Regions from separate parts of the Homo sapiens genome. Here region 1 is linked to region 2. The links are contacts of gene promoters, found by promoter capture Hi-C in human tissues and cell types (Jung and others, 2019). All regions are on one chromosome and are shown on one strand. The core of a region is centred on a gene start or on the middle of the fragment in contact, and the rest is flanking DNA. Distances in the headings are between cores, read along the strand shown. Region 1 overlaps ZDHHC16 (zDHHC palmitoyltransferase 16). Region 2 holds the start of MARVELD1 (MARVEL domain containing 1).

The links. The method cuts DNA at HindIII sites, captures the fragments that hold promoters and counts their contacts. A contact is called where the count stands out against the background at its distance.
Region 1: a fragment that was not itself captured here is called in contact with the fragment with the promoter of MARVELD1 in region 2 in 1 of the 25 tissues and cell types used here (hippocampus).

Annotation. Positions count from the first base shown.
Region 1 is chr10:97,455,618-97,458,317 of GRCh38, forward strand. It overlaps ZDHHC16 (zDHHC palmitoyltransferase 16), which reads left to right. Exons shown (of 12, transcript NM_198046.3): 10 at 43-166; 11 at 357-427; 12 at 1,160-1,753. The coding sequence ends at 1,274. Among named protein-coding and RNA genes, the nearest start is that of ZDHHC16, 11 kb to the left of the region's middle. The HindIII fragment of the contact is 5,805 bases long and covers 1-2,700 here.
Region 2 is chr10:97,712,409-97,715,108 of GRCh38, forward strand. It overlaps MARVELD1 (MARVEL domain containing 1), which reads left to right and starts at 1,322. Exons shown (of 2, transcript NM_031484.4): 1 at 1,322-2,700. The coding sequence starts at 1,469. The coding sequence ends at 1,990. RefSeq lists an enhancer at 1,634-1,683 and a silencer at 1,994-2,213. The HindIII fragment of the contact is 16,034 bases long and covers 1-2,700 here.

The DNA.
Region 1 (2,700 bases), core at 123-2,622, 260 kb before region 2:
CCTCTCTAAACTACCCACCAGTCTTCGCCCCTCTTTTCTTAGTTCTGTGGCACTTGCCCTGGGTGCCCTAACTGTATGGCATGCTGTTCTCATCAGTCGAGGTGAGACTAGCATCGAAAGGCACATCAACAAGAAGGAGAGACGTCGGCTACAGGCCAAGGGCAGAGTGAGTAGGGTTGAAGGCTCGGGGTGGGTAGGTGGGTAACTGAACTTGCTCTCCTGTAAACAGAGGCCATGGGCAGGGCTGACTAGGGCAAGCATTGTAAAAGGCCAGAACTACTCTATCTGAGCTTTAGCTTAGCCAATTTAGTCTGAAAAATTAGAAGTTCAAAGAAACATGTTTTTCTTGGCTCCAGGTATTTAGGAATCCTTACAACTACGGCTGCTTGGACAACTGGAAGGTATTCCTGGGTGTGGATACAGGAAGGTAATGTAAGACACACAGACTAATGCTGTCCAACAGAACACTGTGATGAGAAAGATGTTCTATGCCTGTGAGCACTTGGAATATGGCTAGTGGCTACTGTGTTAGCACAGTTCTAGACTCTAGGAATAGAGATCATTGTCCATTTGAACCAGAAAGGCTTGAGGCCAATACTGTGTGGTTTTAAGTAACAGATGAGGCTTCAACGTGACTACAGTGGAATCCTAGGAAAGCTGTGCTCAGGAAGGGGCCTCTGGGTGTAGGATATGGTGGCCACCAGTCACCTCTCACTTGGAGAGCAGTGTCTAGAGTTCAAGCCAATAATTTGTGAGATTAAAATAATCTACTTGTCATAGAGGCCCTAAGACAGTAACTGGAGCTAGCTCTCTCAGCCCAAGACAAGGGGAAACAATTTTTCAAATGGCAGTTACTGAGGCGGTAACAATCAGATGAACAGACGTGCCTTCCCTCCTCCCTTTCCCATGTACATGACACTCCTATCACTGTGCTTACAGTGGACCTTTAGAAGTTTAGCTCGAAACCTTAAAAGGCCTTCAAAGGACCAAAAGGTACATTTGTTGGATAAAATTGGGTAGCAGAAATTAGAACTTTTGTTACTTTCATGATTGACACCGAGGTAGCTTCAGGATACCTTGATGTATGCTTGTTAAGGAATGATGATTGGGAAGGACCAAGAATTCTTGAACTCAGAGACATTTCTCTCTTCTCTTCTAGGCACTGGCTTACTCGGGTGCTCTTACCTTCTAGTCACTTGCCCCATGGGAATGGAATGAGCTGGGAGCCCCCTCCCTGGGTGACTGCTCACTCAGCCTCTGTGATGGCAGTGTGAGCTGGACTGTGTCAGCCACGACTCGAGCACTCATTCTGCTCCCTATGTTATTTCAAGGGCCTCCAAGGGCAGCTTTTCTCAGAATCCTTGATCAAAAAGAGCCAGTGGGCCTGCCTTAGGGTACCATGCAGGACAATTCAAGGACCAGCCTTTTTACCACTGCAGAAGAAAGACACAATGTGGAGAAATCTTAGGACTGACATCCCTTTACTCAGGCAAACAGAAGTTCCAACCCCAGACTAGGGGTCAGGCAGCTAGCTACCTACCTTGCCCAGTGCTGACCCGGACCTCCTCCAGGATACAGCACTGGAGTTGGCCACCACCTCTTCTACTTGCTGTCTGAAAAAACACCTGACTAGTACAGCTGAGATCTTGGCTTCTCAACAGGGCAAAGATACCAGGCCTGCTGCTGAGGTCACTGCCACTTCTCACATGCTGCTTAAGGGAGCACAAATAAAGGTATTCGATTTTTAAAGATATGTAGCTTCTCACTCTCTGCCTCACGATAGGGCAGGGAAGGGGAAAGTCAGGGTCAAGACCTAGTGAGTAGGTGTTCTGGTCATGCTTCCTACATTTTTTTTTTTTTTGGAGATGGAGTCTCACTCTGTCTCTCAGGCTGTAATGCAGTGGCGCGATCTTGACTCACTGCAACCTCCGCCTCCCAGTTTCAAGTGATTTTTTTTTTTTTTTTTTTTTGAGACGGAGTCTCGCTCTATATCACCCAGGCTGGAGTGCAGTGGTGTGATCTCGGCTCACTGCAAGCTCCGCCTCCCGGGTTCACGCCATTCTCCTGCCTCAGCCTCCCGAGTAGCTGGGACTACAGGCGCCCGCCACCACACCCGGCTAATTTTTGTATTTTTAGTAGAGACGGGGTTTCACTGTGTTAGCCAGGAGGTCTCGATGTCATGACCTTGTGATCCATCCGCCTCGGCCTCCCAAAGTGCTGGGATTACAAGCTTTACAGGCGTGAGCCACCGCGCCCGGCTCAAGTGATTCTTGTGTCTCAGCCTCCCAAGTAGCTGTGATTAAAGGCGTATGCCACCACACCTGGCTAATTTTTGTATTTTTAGTGGAGATGGGGTTTCACCATGTTGGCCAGTCTGGTCTTGAACTCCTGACCTCCACTGATCCATGCGCCTCGGCCTCCCAAAATGCTGGGATTACAGGCGTCAGCCACCATGCCCAGCTTAATTTTTTTTTTTTTTTAATTATTTGTAGAGATGGGTTCTTGCTATACTGCCAGGGCTAGTCTCAAACTCCTAGCCTCAAGTGATCCGCCTGCCTCAGCCTCCTGAAGTGTTGGGGTTACAGGCATGTGCTACTGTCCTGGTTACCCTGAAAAATTTTTGGCCAATCCCTGTCATTGTTATTCCAGTGATGCCTCTGGTTATATGAGGCATATGTGGGGTGGGGGAAATATCTGACA
Region 2 (2,700 bases), core at 72-2,571:
TAGGGGAAGCAGTGTAACAAACATCAGGTCTGTCTTTTAGAAAGATGTCATGACCTGGCTTGGTGGTTCACGCCTGTAATCCCAGCACTTTGGGAGCCAAGGGGGACAGATCACTTGAGGTCAGGAGCTCGAGACCAGCCTGGCCAACATGGCAAAGCCCTGTCTCTACTAAAAAAAATACAAAAATTAGCTGGGTGTGGTGGCACTCGCGACTGTAGTCCCAGCTACTTGGGAGACCGAGGCAGGAGAATCACTTGAGGCCGGGAGGCGGAGGTTGCAGTGAGCAGAGATTGCTCCACTGCCCTCCAACCTGGACGACAGAACAGTACTCTACCCCACCGCCCCCCACCCCCCCCCCCACAAAAAAAAGGAAAAAGAAAAAAGAAAGATGCCATGGGCACAAAGGTTGAGCATGAAGGAGAGAAGAGAGACTGGTGGTAGTTACCAGCTTCCTGGTCTGAACCCAGGTAGGCTTCATTCCTCCTCAGCAAAATGAGGGGAGTTGCGTGTATCTCTGTGGTTGTTTTGAGGGTTAAATGAGAACTCAGGTAAAGCGGTGGCACGGAATAATAATAATGTAAAGCATCGTTAGCCTCCATCACAGGCAGTTCGGCCTAGTAGTTAAGTCCGTGGGCTTTGCTTCCTCTTGGCCCTGGGTTTGTGTCCCAGCCATGTTAGGTAGCGTATTTTGAATGTGGGCAAGACAGAAGGATGGCAAGGAAGGGTTGGATAAAAGAGGGTGTGGACAATAAGCTTGTGCCGAGTGGAACGAGTGGCGGTGCCTCTGGTGGGTGATGGACTCTTACTCCGACATGGGTAACTCGGACAGCTTTGGACAGGACGAGGCGGGCCCTGGCAGGAGACTGCGGATGTCCAGGTGACAGTGGATGCCAGTTCAAAACCAGCACTGCTCTCCTCCCGCGCCCAGGAAGAGCCCAGAGGCCCGGGGTGGGCGCTATGGCAGGAAAGAGGGAAAAGGAGGAGGCAGGGCGGGCAGGGGCGGCCCCAGATGTGGCAAACTTGGCGCAGCAGCGCACGGGCGGACAGGGCGGAAGGCCCGCGTCGGGCTGGGAGATGCGCCCTGCCCTGGCCCGAGGACGAAGGAATCCGAGCTGGGGGCCTGGCGCAGAGGGGAAAGGGGGGCGCCAGGGTGGTGAGCGAGATGGAAAGAGAGATGGCAGGAAGCCGGGAGGAGCGCGCGGGGGAGGAGACAGCCGAGGGGAAGGGGAAGGGAAAGGGGCGGGTGGGAAGGGTGGAGAGCTGGAGACAGAAGGCGAGGAGGGCCGAGGGGAGGAGAGAGGAGAGGAAGGGTGGGGAAAGGAGGAGAGGAAGAGAGGACTAAGAGGGGAGCAAGGCGAGGAGGCCGCGGCGGGCGCAGCGGGCACCTGGGCCGTGCTGCCCCCGCGAGCAAGGCGCCGCCATTCCGCTGCTCGGGGCGCCGCCGCCGCCGCCACCGCGCCCAGGGGCCATGCTCCCGCCGCCCCCGCGCCAGCCGCCGCCCCAGGCGCGTGCGGCCCGCGGCGCGGTGCGCCTGCAGCGGCCCTTCCTGCGCAGCCCGCTGGGCGTGTTGCGGCTGCTGCAGCTGCTGGCCGGCGCTGCCTTCTGGATCACTATCGCCACCAGCAAGTACCAGGGCCCCGTGCACTTCGCGCTCTTCGTGTCCGTGCTCTTCTGGCTGCTCACCCTGGGCCTCTACTTCCTCACGCTGCTGGGCAAGCACGAGCTGGTCCCCGTGCTGGGCTCGCGCTGGCTCATGGTCAACGTGGCGCACGATGTGCTGGCGGCCGCGCTCTACGGCGCCGCCACCGGCATCATGAGCGACCAGATGCAGCGCCACAGCTACTGCAACCTCAAGGATTACCCGCTCCCCTGCGCCTACCACGCCTTCCTGGCGGCCGCCGTCTGCGGCGGCGTCTGCCACGGCCTCTACCTGCTTTCGGCGCTCTATGGCTGCGGGCGTCGCTGCCAGGGCAAGCAGGAGGTGGCGTGAGGCCGCCCGCGCCCGCCGCGGCCCCGATCGGGGCGGGGGAATCCCCGGAGACCAGCCTCCTTAATCCCTTCCCCCGCCGCCGCCCCGCGCGGGTGCGCCCTGGCACCCTCTCCCTGCCCTCCAGCGTTTCCACTGTCGCCCGCGCCCGGGAACCCTGACGCTCAGCTCCCGCCCGACGGCAGCGCCGCCGCCGCCCAGAATCCCAGCCCAGAATCCCGACCGCCGCGCCGGACGCGCCGTCTCCCGGGACAAGCGCAGGCTGCGATCCGAGGGGCTGACACACACTCGCAGACGAGCCGCCCCGAGGCGAAACCTCGCGGTTCCTCTTCCCTTCCCTGCTGAGACTAAGACGTGGACAGGGGCCGCGCAGATCCGGGGGAGGCTCCCAAATTGGAACCAGGCTTCTGGCTGCCCCCTTCCCTCCCGCCCCGTGGTCGGAAGAGCACTCCCTTCCCTGGCCCCTCATCCAGCCTCCGGTGCTGTAAAACGCAGGCGCTGGGCCGCGGGCGGAGCTGAGGACAGGCCTTGGCTGGTCCCAGGATGAGCGACGAGTTTGGTTTTAGCTGGGGATTGTGCTGGCATCCTGCGAAGCTCCTCCCAGCCGGTCTCTCTGTGCTCGGTTGTCTTGGGGTGGGGCCCATCCGCCGAGGTGGGGACCGATAGGAGAAGCCGGTGGGTTGTACCCTTACACTTGTGGAGTCTCCTCTTGC